Linked DNA regions of Homo sapiens: region 1 is linked to region 2. The links are contacts of gene promoters, found by promoter capture Hi-C in blood cells and fetal thymus (Javierre and others, 2016). All regions are on one chromosome and are shown on one strand. Each heading gives the region's core, a stretch centred on a gene start or on the middle of the fragment in contact. The rest is flanking DNA. Distances are from core to core; before and after follow the strand shown.

Region 1 (6,201 bases), core at 630-3,129, 260 kb after region 2:
TAAACAAAGTCTCCCAATATACTCACGTGGACAAGACAAAAAAAGAAAGGCAGCTGCAAGACAGTGTAGTTAGGTGATTTTGTAATTGTTTAAATAACATGCCAAAAAGTGTTTACTAATGGAATAGTTCAAACTAGAAGGAGAATTCTAATGGGGACTACAGGGATCCACTCTTGGTCTCTCAAGAAACAGAGCCTGGTAAATCATGTTCTTTAACCTCAAGAAACAGAGCCATGGTAAAAAGAAGCTTCCTGGAGCTTCGGATAAATTCCATCACCTTTTTGGGACCCAGTTTCTTCATCAATACCAACCTCACTAGGGTCCTGTGAGGAGTACATAAGGTTAGATATGTACTGAAATAATATGCCAACTCTTAAGTGCCAAGACATTAAGATGCAAGGGGGTTGGGTGACCAAAAAGTCAACAATTACTTGATACTCCAGATATCCCATTCAACATTTTGTTAATGACTCAAAACAAGGAGGTAGCAAGTGTCCATGCAGTCCAGCAGCAAATTGAGCATTTTTGGAACAAGAATTGCAACTGCCTAGGTTAAGCTATGTTTCTAATTCACTAAACTTAGTACCAATTTTCTATCTGAAACTCAAGATATGCCCCAAATTCATTAGTGTGTATTTCAGCTAATTTCTGGCTTATAGTTGCCATTAAACCTGTTCCAAGTTTCCATTCATCACTTGGGACCTCTTATTTTAATAGAAACCTTGTTTGGCCCTATTTCTCCTCTGTAACTCTTGGGATTTTAGCCATGGACTAAAATCATGGACTAAAATAAGATGAGTATTTGGCACTAAAGAACACCCTCATTCCCAAGTAGGTTTTAGCCAAAGCATTCATTGATTTGGATAGGGGTTTTAAAAATATATTTCAAAAACACACTAGATATTGTTGAAGTACCTTGAATTTGAACTGTTTTCCAACTGTTTTCCTAAGCTCAGTCTATATGAAGGCCACAGTTTCTCTTTCCTATACCCATTATGTTTGCTGCTTGGAACAAACAAACCTACACCTCTGTGTAAGAAGGATTACTTCTCAAAATTATCCATACATATATCTAGAGTATCAAGTAATTGTTGACTTTTTGGGCACCCCCCCTTGCATCCTAATGTCTTGGCACTTAAGAGTTGGCATATTATTTCAGTACATATCTCACCTCATGTACTTCTCACAGGACCCTAATGAGGTTGGTATTGATGAAGAAACTGGGTCCCAAAAAGGTGACGGAATTTATCAGAAGCTCCAGGAAGCTTCTTTTTACCATGGCTCTGTTTCTTGAGATCCTGAAATAACATCTGACCACTACACATGCAACCCCTAACTTAAGAATTGTATTATCAGTCTCAAGCTATTAATATCTAAGTATTTCATAAGGAATACTATTGTTCCCACAACTACAAGTTTCTTTCTCTTTTAGAAACTTCAATTGAATCTTCTGTACATGTTTTTAATAATAAACAGCCGGACTTAACAAAATCATGATGCAAAATAGATTTGTATTTCATATCCCAACTTCTTCTTTCAGTAACATCTACCTCCTACCTATGATATTCTGCCTAAGTAATGGGGCTTTACAAATGGCTTTGATTTTTCTGATATAAATCCCACTCGTGTATTCCTTGACAGATTTTGCTACATAATTCCTTTAGCAGTTACAGGCATAATACATTATCATGTGGGTAAAATATAAATCCTCTAAATTAGCCATGTTAATATACACTGTTCTTACTGAATATTAAAATATACTTTAAGGCATTTTGATGAGATAATGTTATCTAAAAATTTTCCCTTTCAAAGCTCATTTTATTGAAATTATTTAGAAATGATTTACAAATTCTTCAATTTTGCTTCTGTGTTTTTTCTCTCTTTTTTTCTATCACAAGCAAGAAAAGCATGTTATACTTGGCTGATAGAATTGAAACAAAAAATCTAGTACTGATTCTATTTATACAGCATCTCTGAATTAATGGTCTTAAAGATCTTAAAATTTTTTAGTTTGATCCATATATAACAATATGCCTTGATTGATGCCAACTTCAGCTTTTCAGCACAAAATAGAAAAAAATACACAAATTCTCAGATCAATCAACACTTTATCTTAATTTGTGACTTTTTTTTTTGAGACAGGGTCTCACTCAGTTGTCCCGCTGGAGTGCAGTAGCATAATCAAAACTTATTGCAGCTTCAACCACCGGGCTCAGTGATGCTCCCACCTCAGGCTCCTGGGTAGCTGGGACTACAGTCATGCACTATCATGCCCAGATAATTTTTGTATTTTTTGTAAGGACAGCATTTCACCATGTTGCCCAGACTGGTCCTGAACTCCTGGGGTCAAGCAATCTGCCCACTTTGGCCTCCCAAAGTGGGCTCACCTCGCCCACCTTCGGACCCCTGCTGAATGTCCGAAACCAAGGATAATACTGAATTCTATATATACTGCATTTTTTCCTATACATACATACCCATGATAAAGCTTAATGTATAAATTAGGTACAGTAAAAGATTAGCAACAATAACTAATAATAAAATAGAACAATTATAATAATATAATATTATTACAAGTATGAGCCACCACACCCAGGCAGACTTTTCTGTATCTATTATATAGCTACTGGTCAATTCTTTTATAAACCCAGTAAACCAAAGACACTGGAATGATAACTTTAAGATATAAAAATTAAAACAGAATGGTGTGATAATTTACTAGAAATAGAAAGTTGATTTCAAACAGAAATGGGTAAAAATCTCCTTTCTCTCTTTCCCATTCAGTGTTACATTTATTATAACAGAGTTGTCACTCTAGGATATTCAATATCCTTTATAATTAAAATTTCATCATAGCTTTCTGTGATTGGTTTTCTGCAGTACTCTCAAGCTGGACTAGTATTCCTTTGATCCAATTATCATAAGCTCATTTAAAATCTCAACTGTGTATGAAACATTTATTGGTTCATAAATCAATGTACACATAGTATATATTGGACAGCCATGCCTCCTAGGATATGTGGACTTAGTGCTCTTTAAGCCAGCAGAAGTTGAAGAATAAAAGGTATTTTTAAATTATAAAAAGTGCTTCTTTCCAAGCATCAGTGATAATGTTTGATGACCTGTTAAGAAAATAGCAACATTCCTGATAAAGTCAGACTGTGAACTTCCTGTGATTTATTTATTTTTTGAGCTCTAATTTATTTTAATTAAGTTCAATAATATTTAAAATATATACTTCTTGTACCAAATTAAATTTGTTCAGAATTGTTAAAAACAATGAAAGTCCTTTAAAATCTAATTCCCTTGTATACTAGACCAGTAACAGAAAATTTATATCACTCCAGGCTTTTGACTATGCTATATAAATATACACACTGATACATTTTACAAAATGGAACCACACTCTACACACTATTGTACAACTTTACTTTTTGCTTCTGTGTTTTTTCTCTCTTTTTTCTATCACAAGCAAAGAAAGCATAGTATACTTGGCTGATAGAATTGAAACAAAAAATCTGGCACTGATTCTATTTATACAGCATCTCTGAATTAATAGTCTTAAAGATCTTTAAATTATTTAGCTTGATACATAGATAACAATATGCCTTGGTTGATGCCAACTTCAGCTTTTCAGCACAAAATAGGAAAAAAAATACACAAACTCTCAAATCAATTAACACTTTCTCTTAATTTGTGACTTTTTTTTACTTAACATATATGATGAACTTAGTTTTTACTTAACATATATAATGAACATCCTTTCATGTCAGTATATATAATTCTGCTTCTTTCTTAATAAAAACTACATAATGTTCATTGTCTAGATATTTCATAATTAATTTTTACTCCATGATTGAATATTTAAGTGCATTTCTGAAAGTGTGTGCATGTATATGTCTGTGTGTTTATTCTGGGAAGTGCTTTGTTAAAAGTACAGTAGTCCCTCCTTTTCCACAGAGAATACTTTCTAAGATCCCCACTGAATGTCTGAAACCAAGGATAATACTGAATTCTACATATACTATGTTTTTTCCTATACATACATACCTATGATAAAGTGTGATTTATAAATTAGGCACAGTAAAAGATTAACAACAATAATAATAAATTAGGACAATTATAACAATACACTATAATAAAAGTTTTATGAATGTGGTCTCTCTCTCAAAATATCTTACTGTACTGTGCTCACCTATTTTCTGAAACTGCTCAGAGTGAAACTGCAGGTAAGGGGGGACTAGTGCTTACATATTTAAATTTTAGGTAGACATGCCAAAATGCTTCGCCAAATTTTTGTGCCTATTTATATTCCCAATCGGTCATCAATAAACCAATTTATATACTTAGATTTGTCTCCAAAATTTTTAGTTCATAGTGTAGTAAAGAAACACACAGAATCATGTCCATAGCAATATTTCATTTTCCTTAATAAAAAGCCCTCAGTCACATTTATAATTTATTTTATATGACTCCCATAAATATCTAAATGCTCACTGAGAAATTCAGACCACTTCCTTGAATTTATTTTACTTAAATTGACTGATTAATTACAGTGTTTTAATGTAAATTTTATCCTATATCCAGCAAGATTAAAGTTTATACATTTAAGAATATTCATTCATTGATATCTAACTTTTCACACATTCATTCAACCATTTAACCCAAGATTTAAAAATATTAAATTACAAATTGAAGCAATAATAAATAGCCCACCAAGCAAACAAAGCCCAGGACCAGACAGATTTACAGCTGAATTCTATCAGAGGTACAAAGAGGAGCTGGTACCAATTCTTCTGAAGCTATTCCAAACAATGGAAAAGGAGGTACTCCTCCCTAACTCCTTTAAGGCCAGCATCATCCTGATACCAAAACCTGGCAGAGATGCAACAAAAAGGAAAACTTCCAGCTGATATCCCTGATAAGCATCAATGCAAAAATCCTCAATAAGATACTGGCAAACCAAATCCAGCAGCACATCAAAAAGCTTATTCACCATGATCAAGTAGGCTTCATCCCTGGGATGCAAGACTGGTTCAACATATGCAAATCAATAAATGTAATTCATCACATAAGCAGAACTAAAGACAAAACCCACATGATTATCTCAATGGATTCAGAAAAGGCCTTCGATAAAATTCAACATCCCTTCATGTTAAAAATGCTCAATAAACTAGGTATTGAAGGAACATATCTCAAAATAATAAGAGCCATATATATGATAAACCCACAGCCAATACCACACTGAATGGGCAAAACCTGGAAGCATTCCCCTTGAAAACCAGCACAAGACAAGGATGCCCTCTTTCACCACTCCTATTCAGCATAGTATTGGAAGTTCTGGCTATGGCAATTAGGAAAGAGAAAGAAATAAAGGGTATTCAAATAGGAAGAGAGGAAATCAAATTATCTTTGTTTGCAGATGACATGATCCTATATCTGGAAAACCCCATTGTCTCAGCCCAAAAGCTTCTTAAGCTGATAAGCAACTTCAGCAAAGTCTCAGGATACAAAATCAATGTGCAAAAATTGCTAGCATTCCTATGCACAAACAACAAGCAAGTAGACAGCCATATTATGAATGAACTCCCATTCACAATTGCTACAAAGAGAATAAAACACCTAGGAATACAGCTAAAAAGGGAAGTGAAGGACCTCTTCAAGGAGAATGACAAACCACTGCTCAAGGAAATCACAGTGGACACAAACAAATAGAAAAACATTCCATGCTCATGGATAGACAGAATCAGTGTTATGGCAATAATGCTCAAAGTAATTTATAGATTCAATGGTATTCCTATTAAACTTCCATTGACATTCATCACAGATTTCGAAAAAACTATGTTAAAATTCATATGTGTATTAATTTGTTCTCACACTGCTATAAAGAACTGCCTGAGACTGGGTAATTTATAAAAGAAAGAGGTTTAATTGACTCACAGTTCAGTATGGCTGGGGAGGCCTCAAGAAACTTAGAATCATGGTGGAAGGGAAAGCAAACACGTCTTTCTTCACATGGTGGCAGGAAGGAGAGGTGCCAAGCAAAAAGGAAAAAGCCCTTATAAAACCATCAGACCTAATGAGAACTCACTCACTATCATGAGAACTGTATGGGATAATTGCCCCCATGATTCAATTACCTCCCACTGGGTCCCTCTCACAACATGTGGGGATTATGGGAACTACAATTCAAGGTGAGAT
Region 2 (6,181 bases), core at 1,404-3,903:
TACAGTACAACCAAGAATCCACAAAAGATTATGCAAAAAGTACCATCAGCTTGCCAAGAATAACCAAAAATTAGACATTTAAAATAAATTGTTTTATTGAATGTTAAGTCCAAAGCTATTTCGAAAGTTCTCGATTTCCCCCATATTCCTACCAGTGTCATGAACTTGAAAATTGGGGATAATCGGCTTCAGAAATTTGAACTCATTTGTCCCGGAACCTCCTGTCAGACACACCTCGTATTGGTAGCTCTGGGACAGGGTCCCGGTGCCGCTCACGTCCACCAGATGCCCTGGAAAGGGACCCTCGGGCACCGAGCAGCGACCCACCGAGGCCGCCCTGCTCCTCCTGCACAGCCGCACCGCCACGAACAGGAGCACCGAGAAGAGGAAGAGCGACGACACCGAGGCCAATGCCACCACCAGGTAGACGGTGAGGGAGTCGGCCTGGGCCTGGGCCGGGGCCGCCTCAGGGAGCGGCAGGTAGGGCTGGGAGAAGCCGTCCACCAGGAGCACGTGCAGCGTGGCGGTGGCCGAGCGAGGAGGCTCGCCATTGTCCTTGACCAGCACCACCAGCCTGTGCTTGGCCGCGTCGCGCTCGCTCAGCAGCCTGGCGGTGCGCACCTCGCCATTGTGCGCCCACACGCCGAACAGCCCGGGCTCCGTGGCCTTGAGCAGCTGGTACGACAGCCAGGCGTTCTGGCCCGAGTCGCCGTCCACCGCCACCACCTTGGTCACCAGGTAGCCCGGCTCGGCCGCCCGGGGCACCAGCTCGGTGCAGGGCGCGGAGCCGTTCTGCAGCGGGTACAGCACGAAGGGCGAGTTGTCGTTGGCGTCCAGCACCAGCACGCGCACCAGCGCCTCGCTGCTCAACGCCGGGGACCCGCGGTCTGTGGCGCCCACGCGAAACTCGAACTCCTGTAGGGCCTCGTAGTCCAGCGACCTGAGGGCAAACAGGTGGCCATTGTCCGCGTTGATGGAGACCAAGGAGGCGAGGGGCAGGTGCCGGTCCTGGGGCGGCAGCAGCGAGTAGTTGACCTGGGCGTTGGTGCCTGAGTCTCTGTCTGTGGCGCTGACGCTGCCGATGTGCAGGGCGGGGCTGTTGTTCTCGCGGACGAACAGGGTGTAGGAGGTTTGGGTGAAGGTGGGGGCGTTGTCATTGACGTCAGAGAGCAGCACGGTTATGTTGTACTCGGTTTTCAGCCTGGGTGTCCCCAAGTCTGTGACGGTGATCGTGATGTTGTACTCGGCTTGGCTCTCTCTGTCCAGTGCTTTTTCAGAAACTAGAGTGAAAAAGTTCTTGAAGGTCGGTTTCAGGAAAAAAGGGAGGTTATCTTGAATAGAGCAAATCATCCTCCCATTGTCTCCAGAGTCTTGGTCTAGGATACTAAAAAGAGCTACTAGGGTCTCTGAGGCATTCTCTGGAATTCTCTTTGTAATCGACGATATGGTCACTTCTGGTGGGTTGTCGTTTATATCCATAACTTTAACTAGAAGGGTGCATTTTCCTGAAAGACCCCCACCATCTGTTGCCTGAATATTTATAGTGTAGGACTGTATTACTTCAAAATCCAGGGGTGATCTCAAATTAACTTCCCCAGATATTGGATTAATTTCAAATGTTTTACGAATATCTTCTGATGCATGGAAAAATGTGTAAGATATTTTTCCATAGTTTCCTGCATCCAGATCCTTAGCTGAGATGGTGGCAATCCAGGAGCCAAGGGGTCTGTCCTCGGGGACTTGCACCTCATAGAGACTCTGAGGAAACTCAGGGGCATTATCATTGATGTCCAACACCTTGATGAGAACCAAAGTTGTCCCAGACTTGGGCGGGGATCCACCATCCACTGCTGTGAGTGTTAATCTGAGTTCAGCTTCCTGTTCATAATCTAAAGCTCTATCTAGGACCAGCTCTGGGTATATCTTTCTGTCACTACTGTCGGGAATTTTAATGTAGAAGTGAGAATTGGGGCTAATTGTGTAGTTTTGGAGACTGTTGCTTCCGACATCCAAATCTTGAGCACTCTCCATTAGAAAGGTAGCTCCAACAGTGGTACCTTCTGATATTTTAATAAGTATTTCCTTGTCTAGAAATGTAGGGGAGTGATCATTTATGTCTTTGACACACAGCTCAAACCGAAAAAACTGTAAAGGGTTTTCCAAAACCACCTGAAAATGCAGCACACAGGGCTCGGTGGAGCCACACAGCTCGTCTCGGTCTAGTTTCTCATTTAGGAGCAAATTCCCAGTCAGCAAATCAAGGTGCAAATACTTTTTATTATCATCAGACACTACCCGGGCTTCACGTGAAGACAGCTCCTCCACCCCCAGCCCTAGGTCCCTCGCTAGATTAGCCACAAAAGAGCCAATTTCTGTTTCCTCTGCCACAGAATAGTGTGCAGATTCAGTACCTGCCCGAGACAATCCCAGCAAAACAAGGAATATTAGAACTTGCCTTTTTCGCAGATCGAGTGCCCCTCTGATCTCCATGGTTCCTTTAGGCAATCTCTTGTGGAAAAACTGAAGCTCAGCCGTAATTTTGGAAGCTGAAGCTCTGGTTTTTAACAGGAACCCCCTGGAGAGTGTATCCTCCAGCAGCTCTGTAGGCGAAGCTCCTTTAATGCCTGTCTTTTCAGTGGGTTGGATGCTTTCTGTTCTCCTGAATAGCGAAGCTCACCGTGCCAGCCTATGTACTGTTTTCGTCTTATCCTGTAGCGCCACCATGTGTCTCCATGTTTTTTTTTTCATTAAAAAAGTTTTCCTCTTTGAAAAAGTAATTCATAAATACATCCGGAACATTCGAAACAAATCCCAGACATCATTTTTTTTCCTTTAAATACTTCACTAAGTATTTTTAATAGGTAAGGCCTTCTAAAAGATAATTGTAATAAAACGTTCACAATCAACAACTTGAGCAATAATTCCTTGGTGTAATTTATACTGCATTTGGTTTTCCCCAGTTCTCTCCAAAATGTCCTTTGCTGTTGGTTTGTTTGAATTTGAATCCAGAAAAGTCCATACACTGCATTATCACTGTTTTGAATGCTCGGCACTAAAGGATCTGTTAAAATATTCTGAACTGAAGAAATAATTTTTTATTTAAGTCATTTCTCGAGTAATTACAAATATATTATCTCCTTCACTCTTGTAAATACTTGTTGTCAGCTATAGTTGGTAATATCATTACTTTTTTCACTTTTATATTTTAAAAATATAAAGAAGGACATGGCACAAATAAGTTAGAGATAATTCTTGCTCTTACAGAGCTCACAAGCTAGAAAAATTGGCAGACAAGTAAACGAAGTATGTCATAATGTATGCATTTATAAAAAGTAATATAGAAATACCTAGAAAAGACTTCTTGTACCTAGGAGGCTGCATACCTTAGTGCTTGGGAATATGGGATCTGGAACCAAATTATCAATATTAGAATCCTGGTTATGTGACTTACTATCTATAAGCTTGGGCAAGTTATAGATACCTTTGTTTCCTCACCTGTAAAATGGGGTAATAATATTTGTCTCCTATGATTATTATCGTAGGCATCTAATGAATTAATATTTACAAAGTGGTTTGTAAGTGCTGGTTAAGTGTCTGTCAAAAATAAAATAATTAAGATCAAAGTCGGACTTGGGACATCAGTGAAAGCTTTCCTGAGGTAATGAAAAATACATTGTGATCTGAAGGAACTAGCCAGGAGAAGGAGGAATATTTCAGATGGGCATTTTGAGGAACACAGAGAAATGAAGTATGCCTTGGACTTTAAAAACTATGGAAGGGGAGGGTCTAACAATGAAATTAGGGTTAAAAGCATGGTGAGAACATGAATCATTATACAGGTCATATCATGCATTCTTGAATTTATCCTAAAGGTAATTCAAGTACAAAGATGGGTTTTAAATATCTGATTAACATGATTACATCTGCATTTTAAAAAATCAGTTTGGCTGCAGTATGGAGAATTAATTTCAGGGGGAGTGACTGGAGAATCAAGGAGATCAGATAAGAGATGATGATCTGGATGAGGATAATGCCAGTGTGGATGGAGAGAAGAGGGATGAATAGAAAGGTATGAGGAGATGAAATGTTTTCAACTGTTGGTTGATAGGTTGCATGGGGAGAAAAATGGGAAAGACTCAGAGATGATATCACACCTCTGGACTGGGCATCTGGATGACTAGTGGTGTCATTCACTAGGACAGGGAATGCTAAAAAAAAACATGATTGGGGTGGAAAAAGATGAAGTGTTCAGTTTTGAACATGCTGATATTGAGGTAAGTGCCTGTAGGATGTGTGTTTGCGTGGTGGTGGGGTGTGTGTGTGTGTGTTTGCATATAACCAAAGCATAGGAAATAAATCTGAGCTGGCAATATGAACTGTGGTGTGTATATATGTATATATATAGAGAGAGACAGAGAGAGACAGAGAGAGAGAGCATATATATAGCATATATATAGAGAGAGAGCATATATATAGCATATATACAGAGAGCATATATATAGCATATATATATATATAGCATTCATGGTTTCAATCACCATATATATATATATATATATATATATACACACCATGAATGCTCTAGGATAACCAAGCAAAAGTGTGTCAAATAAGTATAAAAGAGGCTTGGCACAGAACTCTGAGAAACATCTTCATTTAGAGGAGACAGGGCAAGAAGTATATTTGAAAAGATAAAGAAGGCTCAGAGTTCAAAATCATGAAATCAAAAGCAAATAGCATTTTAAGGAGATAAGGAAGATCAATGGCTGCAAATGCTTCAGAAAAATCAAGAAAAATAAGTATGACAATTATCCAGTGGGCTTAAAAAGATGGTCATTGTGGAGGATTCTGATAGATGTCTGACAAAATCTGTTTTCCTTTGCTTCTATAGTAATAGAACTGTGCCCAGGTATGTGGCCATGAAGGTAGATTGCCCATCCCAGCCTCCCTTGTATTTGAGTGTGGCCAAGTGAATTAAGTTCTCACAGATGGATTGTGAGCAGAATTTCTGTCTTCCCCTTCCAGTTATAGAACAGAAATCATCTGGATATGCCTCTTTCTTCCAAGCGAGCTAGAACCCAGATGTGACAGTGACCCAGCTACAGCCATGCAGATTATATTGCCATAGGGAATGTTGAAGAAATTACTTGAAAGAAAATTTGGTTTCAGAAGGACTGTGAGGATGAAAGCTGCCCTACCTACCTAATAATTTTTACATTGGTACTGTCATGTGAAAAAGAGAGACATGTTTACAAGCCACTGTGTCATTGCATCACATTGGTTCCACAGTATAATCTTAACTTATATGGAAATCTTTGATAACATTTGCAATAGCAGTTTCAGTAGAATGGTTGTGATGAAAATTAGATTGTACTTCGGTGCAAAGTGAGGCGGATGAGGAAGCAAAAATGAGGTAAACCGCTCTTTCAACAATTTTTTTTTTGAGACAGGGTCTCAGTCTGTCACCCAGGCTCACTGGCTCACTGCATCCAGGCTCTCAAGAAATTTGTAAAGAATGAAAAGGCTGTAAAAGGAATAAGAAATACATTGGTATCTGGAGAAGAATTCAGACTCAGAGAGTATTTTAAAGACTAGAGAAACTTGAATATATTTAAAATGCCAATGTGTAATGTTCAGTAGGGAAGGAGAAAATTAAGATACAGAAGGGATAATGCAAGTCCCCTAGAAAGGTTGTTAAAGATGGGATCCAGGCAATGTATGAAGTGTTTGGATTTAGACCAGTGGGACGGACCTCAGCAGGTGAAAAGTATAGATACAGATGCTGTTAAAGCTGTGGAGTAGGGGACAGGAAAATGAATTTCTAGCTGATGGATTCTATTTTCTCAATAAGGTATCAGGCAAGTTCATCGGATAAAAGGGGGTATCTAAGTGGTAGGGTAAGAAGTTTAAAGTAAGATACGTAGGTTTAAAATAGTTGTTGTGGAGCGTAGAAGAGAAAGCTCGTTAGAAAAATTATAAAAGGAGTTCTTGGTCTCAGAAGCCCAATTAGGTTTGAATATTATACATTTATAGTGGCAGTGGTATTGCTAATTTTGTAAGTTTGGTCTTATAGAGTGCAGCACCCCATGTGTAAGAGAGGAGGAGGACTATATTCATCTGGGCTGGAGTTTCATCAGGTGGTTTTAGTGAAGGAAAATTGAACAAGGGAATTGAGAATATG

Evidence for each region. The method cuts DNA at HindIII sites, captures the fragments that hold promoters and counts their contacts. A CHiCAGO score of 5 or more calls a contact.
Region 1: a fragment that was not itself captured here is called in contact with the fragment with the promoter of PCDHB14 in region 2 in 1 of 17 cell types (M2 macrophages); the score reaches 7.4 in M2 macrophages.

Annotation. Positions count from the first base shown.
Region 1 is chr5:140,955,308-140,961,508 of GRCh38, reverse strand. All of the region lies in intron 1 of PCDHA1 (protocadherin alpha 1), which reads right to left. All of the region lies in intron 1 of PCDHA2 (protocadherin alpha 2), which reads right to left. All of the region lies in intron 1 of PCDHA3 (protocadherin alpha 3), which reads right to left. The region is part of intron 1 of PCDHA4 (protocadherin alpha 4); the gene reads right to left. It also overlaps PCDHA5, PCDHA6, PCDHA7, PCDHA8, PCDHA9 and PCDHA10, and 5 more genes. Among named protein-coding and RNA genes, the nearest start is that of PCDHAC2, 8.1 kb to the left of the region's middle. The HindIII fragment of the contact is 1,223 bases long and covers 1,268-2,490 here.
Region 2 is chr5:141,219,815-141,225,995 of GRCh38, reverse strand. PCDHB14 (protocadherin beta 14) reads right to left here and starts at 2,653. Exons shown (of 1, transcript NM_018934.4): 1 at 1-2,653. The coding sequence starts at 2,490. The coding sequence ends at 94. It also overlaps PCDHB@. The HindIII fragment of the contact is 16,360 bases long and covers 1-3,463 here.